2 separate regions of the Homo sapiens genome follow, and region 1 is linked to region 2. Evidence: promoter capture Hi-C in human tissues and cell types (Jung and others, 2019). All regions are on one chromosome and are shown on one strand. The core of a region is centred on a gene start or on the middle of the fragment in contact, and the rest is flanking DNA. Distances in the headings are between cores, read along the strand shown.

Region 1 (6,920 bases), core at 1-2,500, 410 kb after region 2:
CTGGTGCCAACGTTCAGTGGACACATCCTCATCTTCTTCCTCGTCTCTGTGGCCTTGGTGCCTGTGGTCAGGGACATGATGGTGGTGTTCACCTGAGACAGCCTCAACCTCTTCCTTTCTGTGGTCTTGGTGCCTGTGGGCCTGGTGTCCATACTCAGTGGAGACATCATCATCATCATTGTCATCTTCTTCATGGCTTCGGTGCCTGTGGCTGGGGTCGCGATGATGGTGTCCATCTGAGACATCTTCATCCTCTTCAATCCCGTGGCCTTGGTGCCTGTGAGCCTGGTGTCTATATTCAATGGAGACATCATCATCATCATCATCATCATCATCATCATCATCATCATCGTCATCTTCTTCATGGCCTTGGTGCCTGTGGCTGGGGCCATGATGATGGTGTCCATCTGAGACATCCTCATCCTCTTCACTCCCATGGCCTCGGTGCCTGTGGGCCTGGTGTCCATACTCAGTGGAGGCCTCCTCTTCCTCCTCCTCCTCCTCCTCCTCCTCTTCTCCTTCATCATCTTCCCCATCATGGCCTCGGTGTCCATGCCTGAGGATATGATGGTGATGCTCACTGGACACAACTTCATCCTCATCCTCGTCTTGATGGCTGTGGCTCCTGTGGCTGGGGAGGTGGTGCCTGTGCTCAGCTGAGTCTTCCGTGTCTTCACTCCCGTGGCCTCTGTGCCCACGGGCCTGCCCACCATGCTCTGCAAAGACCTCCTCACCTGAGACACCCTCATCTCCGACTTTGTGGTCTTGGGACCTGTGGCCTGGGAGTAGGTGCCCATATTCCTTGGAGACATCTTCATCCTCCTTTTCACGGTCTGGGTGGCTCCAGAAATGATGCCCATTCTCTGTGGAAACATCCTTGTTCTCATCTGGATGGTCTCTAGGGCTGTGGAGGTGGTGGCGAAGCTCTGCTGATGCCTCCTCGGAGAGCCCGGCGACTCCAGTGCTGTTGTTCCGGTTTCTGAAGCCTAGCCCATCCCCTCTGAGCTGCTGGGTCATGGCCGGGGGGAGGAGCAGGCTGGCCACCCCAGCCCAGAGGACAGAAGCGTGCAGCCATGGCCTATGGTGGCCCATGGGGACGGACAGGCAGCACTGGCTCCAGCTGCCTCTGCGGCAATGTGGACAAACGTTGGGGTCTTTGTCCCTTTGGGGTTGGTCTCTTTTTTTCTCTGTGTCTCTCCTTTGTCCTTTCGGTCTCTGTCCACCTTCCTCTGGTCCTTGCTGCCTGGCTCTGGACACCCCTCTGAGGCTGTCTCCGGAGCCCCCTGACCCCCCTCTGGGGCCCTCCCTCCCCATTCCCCAGCCAATAGGGTCCTTCCCCTCCCCTCTCTCCAGCTAAATTTACTCTCAGCCCTGAGTTATTCTGGGTCAGTCCCCGCCTGCCTGCCTCCTGCTCCTCCTCCTCCCAGCTGGGGAGGGGACCAGTGAGGGGTCTCTCCCTGGCCAGGAGACGGTGGCCAAGGGACTTGACTTTGAACTACCAACAAGCTCACGTTTGGCAGCTGCAAAGACAAAGGCTAGACTTTTAGCAGGTTTTTGGGGGAGCCTGGGGCACCTGGGGGAGGCAGAAGAGACTTATCAGAGGGGAGAGACTCCTGGGACGGAAGGACTGGGGGTTCGATTGCGGGGTGTTTCCAGCTGGAATGATACGTGCTGGTGAGAGAGTGATGTCAGTATTGAGGCCCTAGAATGGGGGGAAAGGAACATGGCCCCCAACACACGTGCCCATGACCTCCTGTCCCTGGAACTCAGATCTGGGGGCAGGGACTGGGCTAGGCCAGGGCTATAAATACAGCTGGGAGGGGTAGGGGGACTCAGGTTACGGAGGCCACAGCTGTCCCCATCACAGAGGGCTGGCAGGAGACAAGTGGCCTTGCCCGTCTCTGTGTGTCAGTATTTCCTACTCCTCACCCTTCATGACTGCCCCCACTAGGGTCTCCTTTCCTGTTCACGGGTCCTCCTCTCTCTTCAATTCTGTCATCTGCTCTCTCAGGGTCCCTGTCCCTCCTCCATGGGATTGCCTCTCCCTCTCACTCTGGGCTTCTGTCCCACTCTTATCTTAGTGTCAGTCCTCCCCCAAGTCTGTGTCCCTCTCTCTCCCCTAAATCTCTGGCCCCTCCTTTCTGAGTTCCTGCCCTTCCCCCAATTCTTTGGTTTTTGCATCCCCCTCTGCCCCTTGCCTCAGTCAAGGTGTCTCCTCCCCATCTCTGGCATCCACCTCTCTGGGTCTCTGTCCCCACTCTCTCTCAGAGTCTCTGTCCCCCTCTGTCTCAGAGTCTCTGTCCACCTCTCCCTGGGTCTCTGTCCCCCTCTCTCTGGGTCTCTGTCCCCCTCTCCCTGGGTCTCTGTCCCCCTCTCTCTGTGGATCTCTGTCCCCCTCTCTCTGGGTCTCTGTTCCCCTCTCTCTGTGGGTCTCTGTCCCCCTCTCTCTGTGGATCTCTGTCCCCCTCTCTCTGGGTCTCTGTTCCCCTCTCTCTGTGGGTCTCTGTCCCCCTCTCTCTCTGGGTCTCTGTTCCCCTCTCTCTGGGTCTCTGTCCCCCTCTCTCAGGGTCTCTGTCCCCCTCTGTCTCAGAGTCTCTGTCCCCCTCTCTCTGGGTCTCTGTCCCCTCTCCCTGGGTCTCTGTACCCCTCTCCGTGGGTCTCTGTCCCCTCTCCCTGGGTCTCTGTCCCCCCATCCCTGGGTCTCTGTCCCCCCCTCTCTGGGTCTCTGTCCCCCTCTCTCTGGGTCTCTGTCCTCCTCTCTCTCTGGGTCTCTGTTCCCCTCTCTCTGGGTCTCTGTCCCCCTCTCTCTGGGTCTCTGTCCCCGTCTCTCTGGGTCTCTGTCCCCCTCTCTCTGGGTCTCTGTCCTCCTCTCTCTCTGGGTCTCTGTTCCCCTCTCTCTGGGTCTCTGTCCCCCTCTCTCTGGGTCTCTGTCCCCGTCTCTCTGGGTCTCTGTCCCCCTCTCTCTGGGTCTCTGTCCCCCTCTCTCTGGGTCTCTGTCCCCTCTCCCTGGGTCTCTGTCCCCCTCTCCGTGGGTCTCTGTCCCCTCTCCCTGGGTCTCTGTCCCCCCCTCCCTGGGTCTCTGTCCCCCCCTCTCTGGGTCTCTGTCCCCCCCTCTCTGGGTCTCTGTCCTCCTCTCCCTGGGTCTCTGTCCCCCTCTCTCTGTGGGTCTCTGTCCCACTCTCTCTGGGTCTCTGTCCCACTCTCTCTGGGTCTCTGTCCCCTCTCCCTGGGTCTCTGTCCCCCTCTCTCTGTGGGTCTCTGTCCCCCTCTCTCTCTGTCTATCCCTGGGTCCCTGCTGCCCCACCTTCTGATTCTCTGTCCCCTAAGTCTTTGTCTCCCCCTCTTTGGGTTAAATTGTCCCCTCCCTGTCTGGCATCCTCCTTTCTGAGTCTGTTCCCTCTCCGCCACTGGCCCCCAACTCCTTCTGTTCCCATCTCGCGCTTGCCCTTGGAGTCTCCCCTGTGTGTCTCTCTCCCCCCGGCCCGGACCTCTGCACCCCCCAGGTCGCTGTCCCTCTGTCCCCTTATCGCGGCCTGGGACCCGCCCTCTCCCCGCCTCCCGCTTTGGCGTCTCCAAGACTCCCCGCCCCCCAGACCTCGCCCCGCCCCAGGCTAGGCTGGAAAGTGGAGGATCCGGTTTGCTCTGGGCGGGTCTGGAAGCAGAGCCGGCGGAGGGAGCGCCGGGGCCCTGGGCTGCAGGAGGTTGCGGCGGCCGCGGCAGCATGGTGGTGCCGGAGAAGGAGCAGGTGAGCGCCGGACCAGGGTCTGCGGGAGCGCGGAGCTGGGGACCTCGCCTCCAGGCTCCCAGAGAGGAGGGCGCTGGACACCCAGATTCCTGGGTCAGACGGAGGAGGGGGATGGGAGGGTCCAGGTTCCAGGGTCCAGGGCATGGGGGTCGAGACTCCTGAGTCTGGAGCGGGAGGGCGCTGGGGGCCCGGACTCCTGTGTCCGTGGGGAGCGCACGGGGTGGGTGGCTCTGTGTCCCATAGGACAGAACTGGGTGCCCTCTCACCCCACTTCCACCCCTACATTTGTTCCTGTCCCCAGAGCTGGATCCCCAAGATCTTCAAGAAGAAGACCTGCACGACGTTCATAGTTGACTCCACAGATCCGGGGTGAGGAGTTCGCCCCTGGACTGACCCCAGAGGGTCCGCGGCCCGCTGACCCCGCCCGCGGATGGTCACGCCCCAGCCCTGCTCCTTCCCCATTCCTGGACTCGGGGACCTTCCCAAGGGCGTTCCTTGCCGACGCTCTCCCTCTAGGAGCGTTTGGGTCTGTGTAGACACCCCTCATTCCCCATTCGCCATTCTCCCGCTCAGGGTCAGTGTAGACGCTCCAGGGCTCGGTTCTGCTTCTTTCCTCCCCGATGTCTCTTCTATGTGCTTCTGTCTCTTCGTGTCACTTTCTGTGTCTCTGTCTTTCCCTTTTGGGTATTTCTGTTTCATTCATTCATTCATTCATTCATTCATTCATTCATCCATCCATGCAAGAAACCCTCACTCAGCGCTCCCAAGGTCCCTTTAGCCTAATTCAACGGCCCTGCCAGGGTTCCAATTTCCCCTGGGACACGTGCTGTGTGGCTTCGGGCAAATCATTTCACCTCTCTGGGTCCCGTTTCTCATCTGGGCATCAAAAGAGGCTTGATCTCCTGGGGTTATTATGAGAATTAAACAAGTTAATGCTTGTGATATTCCTGGCACAGCGCCCAGCACAGGACGCTGGGAAATATCTGCAGCTCCCACTGGGAGGTGGCAATTATTACCGCGGGCGGGCCCTGTCTTGGTGGCCGGGGACACCAATTGAGCTAGATAGGGTGTGTGCGTCCGCGAGGAGCTCCCGCCCTTCAGTGACGGCCTCTCAAGCGGATCCAGGCTTTCTAGTTTTTTTTTTTTTTTTTTTTTTTTTGAGACGGTGTCTCGCTCTGTCCCCCAGGCTGGAGTGCAGTGGCGCGATCTCGGCTCACTGCAAGCTCCGCCTCCCGGGTTCACGCCGTTTTCCTGCCTCAGCCTCCCGAGTAGCTGGGACTACAGGCGCCCGCCACCACGCCCGGCTAATTTTTTGTATTTTAGTAGAGACGGGGTTTCACCGTGTTGGCCAGGATGATCTCGATCTCCTGACCTTGTGATCCGCCCGCCTCAGCCCCTCAAAGTACTGGGATTACAGGCGTGAGCCATCGCGCTGGGCCAATTTTTTGTATTTTTTTTTTAGTAGAGACGGGGTTGCACCGTGTTAGCCAGATGGTCTCGATCTCCTGACCTCATGATCCGCCGGCCTCGGCCTCCCAAAGCGCTAGGATTACAGGTGTGAGCCACCGCACCTGGCCCAGGCTTTCTAGTTTTTTGTTTTTTGTTTTTTTGAGACAGAGTCTGGCTCTGTCGCCCAGGCTGGAGTGCAGTGTTGCGATATCAGCTCACTGCAACATCCACCTCCTGGGTTCAAGCAGTTCTCATGCCTCAGCCTCCCTAGTAGCTGGGATTACAGGTGCCTACCACCATGCCCAGCTAATTTTTTGTATTTTAGTAGAGACGGGATTTCACCCTGTTGCCCAGGTTGGTCTTGAACTCTTGATCTCAGGCAATGCACCTGCCTTGGCTTTCCAAAGTACTGGGATTACAGGTGTGAGCCACCGCGCCCAGCCCTCTAGTTGTTTTTCAAGACAGTTTTTGGGGTGCGGGAAGTATCCACATTCCTACTTCAGTGTGTATTTTGTTATGACTATATATTAGTGCAGTATGGCTTGTAAATGATGGATAAATAAACAGATATGCGCTTGTTGGACGTGAGTGCTCAAAACCTTTTTACTGATAGGTCAGTGTGGTCAAGACAATTTAGGAAACTCTGGTCTGGCCTGAGGAGGAAGAAACGCAGAAGATAATTATAGTAAGGCAAGGGGTTGCAGCTCCCAAAGACGAGCCACTGGGCTCTGTGAGAGCTGGGAGGAGGTGTTTGCTTAAGACTGGGAGGGGACACAAAATGTCACTAATGGTTTCTGGAGGGAGGAAGAGTGGCTAGTGAGGTGACATTTGAAAGTGAGCTGGAGAGAGGCCCATGGAAAGCGATTTGGGGCCGGGCATTGTGGCTCACGCCTGTCATCCCAACAATCTGGGAGGCCGAGGCGGGTGGATCACCTAAGTCAGGAGTTCGAGACCAGCTTGGCTAACATGGTGCAACCCTATCTCTACTAAAAATACAAAAATTAACTGGGCGTATTGGCGCATGCCTGTAATCCCAGCTACTCAGGAGGCAGGAGAATCACTTAAACCTGGGAGACGGAGGCTACTATGAGCAGAGATCACGTCACTGCACTCCAGCCTGGGTGACAGAGCAAGACTCCATCTCAAAAAAAAAAAAAAAAAGAAAGAAAGAAAGAAAAAAGTGATTTGAACAGCATGTGCAAAGTCCTTGCTAAGGACCATATGGTTTGGCTTGAATATGAATCAAAGTTCAGGGTGCAGGGAGCACTGTCATGAGAGAAGAGGCTGCAGAGGAGGGCAGGGCCAGAGCTTGCAGGGTGTCAGAGGCCACCCTAAGGGGCTGGGATCTTGTCCTTGGGAGCTGGGGCATCACCGCAGCAGTGGGGTTGGCTCTGGGTGTGGAAAAACTTTCTGGGGCTGGGAGAGGATGAACAGGAGCTCGGGAGGAGGCTGTAGAGAGCGTCTGAGCGGGAGGGGTAGTGGCCTGAGCCAGGTCAGGGCTTTCGGGACACAGAGAGGAGGGCATGGGGCAAAGACTCAGGGGGCAGGAAGGCAGAGCTTGGGGCTTGATGAGGGTGATGAGGGAGAGAGGGGGTGCCGCCATCGGTGGATGGCTCCGGGACGTATGCTCTGCTGACTGGGACACAGTGGGGCTGTCCCTGAGATGGAGAGCTCAGGAGGGCAAGCAGGTTTGGGAAATGTCGCTGAGTGCAATGTGGGAATCTGT
Region 2 (6,297 bases), core at 883-3,382:
CCTGGACTCAAGCAATCCCCCCGCCTCAACCCCCCAAGTAGCTAGGACTACAGGCACACACCACCATGCCCAGCTAATATGTATACATATGTCTATTTTTTGTAGAGACAAGGTTTCACCATGTTGGCCAGGCTGGTCTTGAACTACTGAGCTCAAGTAATCTGCCTGCCTCAGCCTTCCAAAGTGCCAGGATTACAGGCCTGAGCTACCGTGCCCGGCCAGCAATACACATTTAAACTGAACAACTGAGGAAGCATTTTAGAGCCAAGGGAGCTTCAAAGTCCTTTGCTCAAGGCCGTACAGCTAGGAAGTGGCAGAGCAGGCATTGGAATCTAGGCGGTCTGGGTCCACAGCCTAGTATCTGACCAAGAGACCAGGCATCACTAACGCTGGCTTCTCTGAGAGATTCGGGACTCCCACCCCCTTGATGCATTTACCTTTTACATCACTGTCTGTGATGCGTTTCAGATCCTTCAGCAAACTCCAGGACCCCTTTTGCAGTGTGGCCTCATCTGTCAGAGGAGATATAACCCCAGATTCCAGCCTTACTGTCTCATTGGCGCGCCTAATCTTAGAAACTACAATACCCATGAGGCCACTGGGCAAAGATAGGCCTGGTTAAGGACTCAGCCGCCCGTTGCCTTCTGGGAGTTGTAGTTTTATTACATAAAATTGCCAGCCGAGGATAGGGAAAACGGTATTTACTAGCCTCGGGGAACCTCGGAATCTGCATCTCAGCCTTCTCCATTCCCGAATCCCGGAGACCCTGCTGTCAGCCTCTTCCTTCCCCTGGTCTTATCTCCCTCCTTTCCCAGGACCCAGGGGTCCGTGGTCCCCCCTGCCCTCACCAACGACCCCCATATAGGCATCCTCATTAAGCGACAGTTCCTGGAAATCCTTCACGGCATTCTCTACCCTTTCCATCATGGCTTTGTGATGCTTCGCATCCAGGTGGCCAGGCAGGTAATCTTTCTCCAGGGACTTTAGCGCCAGCACGACAGACGGGTCACATATAACACACCCCTCGGCAGGAAGCAAGCAACCGGCCAGCGCCGCACACAGGAGGGTAAAATGCGGCCCCATTGCAGCCGGCGCGCACAGTTCCCGAAGACCGTTAGGAAGGGTGCTCTCACCCCAAACCGAGAGCAGGAGAACGCTAAACGGAGAAAAGCCAAAATCCATCTTAAGAAATCCCACTGGGCCGCCTATCCATGGGGTCCGCAAACCTCGAAAAGAGGATCTTCAGGAAATCTCCAAATAAAGAGGACCTATGTCCTTCATCAAATGCCTCCGAAGTGTGAAACTGAGCCCCAATCCAGGGGACCCAAAATTTAGGGTTCTCACTGAATCCCCCAACTGAGAGATCAGAAAAACTATTAAACAGGAATCACTCATAAGTCCCCAAACTCAGAACCTGGAATCTCCCAACCCCATGCGCCCCTTCCCAAAATCCCAAACTGTGGAATTTTCCAAGTCCCCAGATTGACGTGAGCCTGAACTCCAACCCTTAAGAGCAACACCGAGGCACTCCCCCGCCAGCCCCCCAAAACCTGTTGAACCTCAAGCTGAAGATTCAATGCCCAAACCAATAAACATCTAACACAGACCCAACCACGATATTATCAAACTCGGAACTCCTTCAAAACCAAAACACATACCAGATTCCTAGAACTGAGGACCCCACTAACACTTAAGCGAGACTCCATGCGGTCCTCTAGACCTAGGGGGCCCTTGTTCACCCTTCCCCAAAACTAACGGGCTCCCAATTTGCAGGGCGCACCCTTCCGCTTAGAAAAAGGAGCCCCGATGCATCCTGAACAGTGATGCACCCTAAACAGCCGCTCCCCGACCTTGGTTCCCGATTTGTGGCCTCTAACACTAGGGTTCATTGAGGAGCCCGGTCCAGGTTCTGAGGGCTTTTAAAGAGGAAGCCGGGGTCATGACCACCTACGCTAATTTTCCCAGGGGTAAAATCAAGGATTGTGTTGGGGACGAGGGTAAGGTTGGTTGCGTGAAATCGAGAGCTTTTCGACGGGGTCTGAGTCACGGACGATCCCCTCTCCACAAGGAACTCCTGAAACCACCCCCTCCGAGCTTCTCACGTAGGGGCCCGAATTCCTTTATAGATATTCCTTGGGGTTTTCCTCGGCCCCACCCAGAAACTCAACTCTGTCTGATTGGACTGCAACAAAGGGAGGTCCCGCCCATCGCTCCATGACGTCACAGAGGCTGCAGCCTTTTTGGACTAGAATTTTCCCAGCATCTAGGGAAGAGGAAGCCTCCTGACTACTCTGGCTTCCAGAGTCAAGGACCGGACTCAGGCCTTCAGTTTCCTCCCCTCCCCTTGCCCCAGGACCCAGGCTTTGGGCTAGATCCGGCCCCCCAGGCCGCTGCCGCCCCCACCGCGGTCCTTGGAAACGGCTGTCGAGCCACGAAGTGGACATTTTAGCCCTAAGACTACAACTCCCAAAATGCCCTGGGGCCTCTTTCTCTGTAGCTGACTGACGCTGCCAACCTCATAGCTTTCCGGGAAATGTAGTTCAGTGATAATCCGCTCCCTCCTCCGCCTCTTCTGCCCACGCGGAGGTCCCAGTGGGAGGAGAGGACTGGGGGCCAATACTGACAGTCCAGGAGTGAGCAACTGGGGGCTCAGACGTTAGGGTCCTGGAAGGTCTCTCTCTCCTGTGTGATAGAAACAGGGAACCAGAAAAACAGGGACCACAACTCACACAAGTCCAGCAACAAGGGGCTGTCAGATCTAAGTAGGGACAGTACTCCCAATCACGAGTAATAAAAATCCTCAGGGCCCGGCGCGGTGGCTCACGCTTGTAATTCCAGCGCTTTGGGAGGCCGAGGCGGGCAGATTGTCTGAGGTCAGGAGTTCGAGGCCAGCCTGGCTAACATGGTGAAACCCCGTCTCTACTAAAAATACAAAAATTAGCTGGGCATGGTGGCGAACGTCTGTAGTCCCAGCTACTTGGGAGGCTGAGGCACCAGAATCCGAGAGGTGGGAGTTTGCAGTGGGCCGAGATCACACTACTGCACTCCAGCCTGGGCCACAGAGCAAGACTCGATCTCTGAAAAAAAATAAATTAATTAAAAAAAAATAAAAGTCTTCAGAAGTACCCCACCTTTTCCTCCACTCTCTTACACACACACACACACACACACACACACAAACCCACACACACATACACAGTGGCTCTGGCTCCAAAAAAGCTACAGAGACACGGGTTAGTGCTGTAGACTTTTAATTCATACCTCCTGCTCTCTCACCCGTGGCAGCTGAGTTGGGAACAGTACTGTAACAATTGTAACTGTAACTCCCTGATAAGCCTACAGGCATGGGGTCTGGATGAGTAGACAGGGGATGTGATCAGAGCTGACTATGTTTAAGGTTTCTTCTTTCACCCTCCAAAAAACAGCAAGGGGCTCCTGAGATCTCGACAACCCCGTCCACCTTGGCCAGACCTCGTGCTCCTGCCTGGATCTGAGGCTGGGTCCAGGGTCTGCCTACCTTTAGATCGTTTTATCTCAGACCTGCCCAAAGCCAGATGTAGTGGTTCTGGGAGTTCAGGGACAGACAGTGGTTAGCAATGAGCACGGTACCTGCCAGTTTGTCACAAGCACAGAGGGTGTGTTTATACCTGCACACTTCCAGAAAACAGATCCCAGACCCTCAGCAGCCCACCTGCAGACAAAGACCAACTTCCTTCATTGTGAGAGGCAACCTGAACTCACACCCAATATATGGAGCTCTTGGCAGTTTATGAGCTTTAAAAAAAAGTGTCCCTGGATCCCTGGAAAGTTCTGCTCCAGAAGCTGTACCATTTTGGCAGTGATCCCTCACCCCACGTTCACATTTTAGCCTGTCTGCTCAAAACAAACAAAAAAAAGTCTTTGAGGGGCTGTGGGGCTTGTTGGACAGAGTCCCGCTCTGCTCACCAACTACCCCAGCTTTTCCAGAGACTGTGAACAGAGCAAGACGCTGGCCAACTAGAGATGGTTTGTTTTCCATCTCAATTTTTCCAGCAATGGTGGAACATTCATTAGATGCTACAATTAGGTTGCACATTCATTAGATTCTTCACTTGGCCCGGTGTGCTGGCTCACATCTATAAACCCAGCATTCTGGGAGGCCAAGGTGGGAGGACTGCTTGAGCCCAGGAGTTGAAGAACAGCCTGGGCAATATCACAAGACCTCGTCTCTACAAAAATTAAAAAAAATTATCCGGGCCAGGCATGGTGGCTCACGCCGGTAATCCCAGCACTGTGGGAGGCCGAGGTGGGCAGATCACGAGGTCAGGAGATCGAGACCATCCTGGTTAACACGATGAAACCCCGTCTCTACTAAAAATACAAAAAAAATTAGCCGGGCGTGGTGGCGGGCGCCTGTAGTCCCAGCTACTCAGGAGGCTGAGGCAGAATGGCATGAACCCGGGAGGCAGAGCTTGCAGTGAGCTGAGATCGCGCCACTGCACTCTGGCCTGGGCTACAGAGCAAGACTCCGTCTCAATAAATAAATAAATAAATAAATAATTAAAAAAAAAATATCCGGGCTGGGCACAGTGGCTCATGCCAGTAATCCCAGCACTTTGGGAGGCCAAGACAGGTGGATGACAAGGTCAGGAGATCGAGACCATCCTGGCCAACATGGTGAAACCCTGTCTCTACTAAAAATACAAAAATTAGCCAGGCATAATGGCCTGTGCCTGTAGTCCCATCTACTCAGGAGGCTGAGACAGGAGAATCGCTTGAACACAGGAGGCGGAAGTTGCAGTGAGCCAAGATCACGCCACTGCACTCCAGCCTGGGCAACAGAGCGAGACCCTGTCTCCAAAAAAAAAAAAAAAAAACTAAAAAGATTCTTCACCTTAGTTATCTGGATTTCCAGAACCCCATCCTGTCCATAAGGGCCCTGCAGGGTTCTTCACAGGCATCAAACCTGGTCCTCTCTAGAACAAGTCTCCCTCTAGAATCACTCCAGAAACACAGAAGGGGACTTGGTGAATGCTTGCTCTGGAGCAATCATATGCTCCTTCAGTCTTTGGAGGACCCAGGGGAGAAGTAACCCCTCTTCTAGAGTAGACCAGAGGGAGAGTTCCCCATTCCTGGGGGCAGCCATCTGGAAGTACTGTAGATATGGGCTGGGAAGAGCAGGTGGGCACTGTGGCTTCTAGAACTGCCTGCCAGCCATCAGGAAAAGATGTTTTGCTAGTTCTAGAATATTCAGACAGTTCCAGAAACGTCCCCCTTCTCTCCAACTCTCCCAACTAGAATCACTCTGGATACGGGCACCCATTTGCTTCAGGAACACCACAAGCTTCTCCAGAAGATGCCAGGCCTCTGAAGCCACGTACTGCTGGCTCTAGAAAGATCAGGCTACTTCAGAAAGTCTCCCTGGCTCTCAAGGCTTAGCCAATGTCCAGAGTGGAGACAAGTCTGCATTAATGCCCACCCACTCGGGCAGGAAGGCCGCCTCCGGCTTAAAGATCTTCAGGAACTCAGAGTCTGGCAGGGTGAAGTTGGCCAGGTAGACAGTGTCTCCGCCAGCCAGGTAGGCAGCCCAGAAGCCGAAGGTGCCAATGGTCATAATGGTGTGGTTGCACTGTGTGAGCAGGGCAAAGTCTTTCCACGGTGTAGCCTCCTGTCCATCGCCAGCAAACGTCACATCGCCCTGGGAGGTGTCGATGTTTTCTTTACACCACTCCATGCCGTTGCTGGTGACCACGAAAACGGGGGCTTCGTGCCGTGCCCGGAACCAGTCCATGGCCTGCCGGAGGTAGGCGCTGTCGCCCACCACACCCTTCCAGCGCTGAGGCATAACCTGCAGATAGTCCCCACGGCGCACGTGGACGCCGACAAAGGTGCGCGGGCGGTCCCCTGTGCGGCCCAGGCGGAGCTGACCCAGCACACTCTGCGCCTCTTCCCGAAGGTGGTCGTGCAGGGTGAACTCTCTGCGGATCTGTTCCCGGAGATGGTGGAAGAAAGTCCAAGAGCAGGGGAAGCCAGAGAGCTTCAGGAAAGGATCTCTCAAGTCCGCGTACTCCTCCGACATCCAGTCGTGAAGCTGCAGCTCCCGCCACGGCGTGCGGCTGTCCACTTCTGGGGCCAGCACGGGCAGGGTGATGCGGAATACCGGGGCCAGGGCGGCATGCATGGCAGGCAGGATAAAGGCCCGGCGGCCGTTGAGCTGGGCCAGAGCCAGCAGCGTGGCATACTGTCCCATCTGATTACCAAACCGGCCATTGGGGTAGACAGTCCAGGTGCCGGAGAGGGAAGCAGGGTGCTGGGGAC

What was found. The method cuts DNA at HindIII sites, captures the fragments that hold promoters and counts their contacts. A contact is called where the count stands out against the background at its distance.
Region 1: a contact is called between the fragment with the promoter of HRC here and the fragment with the promoter of IZUMO1 in region 2, in 1 of the 25 tissues and cell types used here (lymphoblastoid cells).

The regions. Positions count from the first base shown.
Region 1 is chr19:49,154,146-49,161,065 of GRCh38, forward strand. It overlaps HRC (histidine rich calcium binding protein), which reads right to left and starts at 1,251. Exons shown (of 6, transcript NM_002152.3): 1 at 1-1,251. The coding sequence starts at 1,092. It overlaps TRPM4 (transient receptor potential cation channel subfamily M member 4), which reads left to right and starts at 3,647. Exons shown (of 25, transcript NM_017636.4): 1 at 3,647-3,745; 2 at 4,047-4,114. The coding sequence starts at 3,722. RefSeq lists an enhancer at 3,381-4,002 and a silencer at 4,686-4,872. The HindIII fragment of the contact is 31,868 bases long and covers 1-6,920 here.
Region 2 is chr19:48,744,777-48,751,073 of GRCh38, forward strand. IZUMO1 (izumo sperm-oocyte fusion 1) reads right to left here and starts at 2,133. Exons shown (of 10, transcript NM_182575.3): 1 at 1,659-2,133; 2 at 849-1,156; 3 at 438-512. The coding sequence starts at 1,083. FUT1 (fucosyltransferase 1 (H blood group)) reads right to left here. Exons shown (of 2, transcript NM_001384359.1): 2 at 3,235-6,297. The coding sequence ends at 5,408. RefSeq lists a cis regulatory region at 332-852 and enhancers at 1,628-2,413, 2,414-3,199, 6,222-6,297. The HindIII fragment of the contact is 12,211 bases long and covers 391-6,297 here.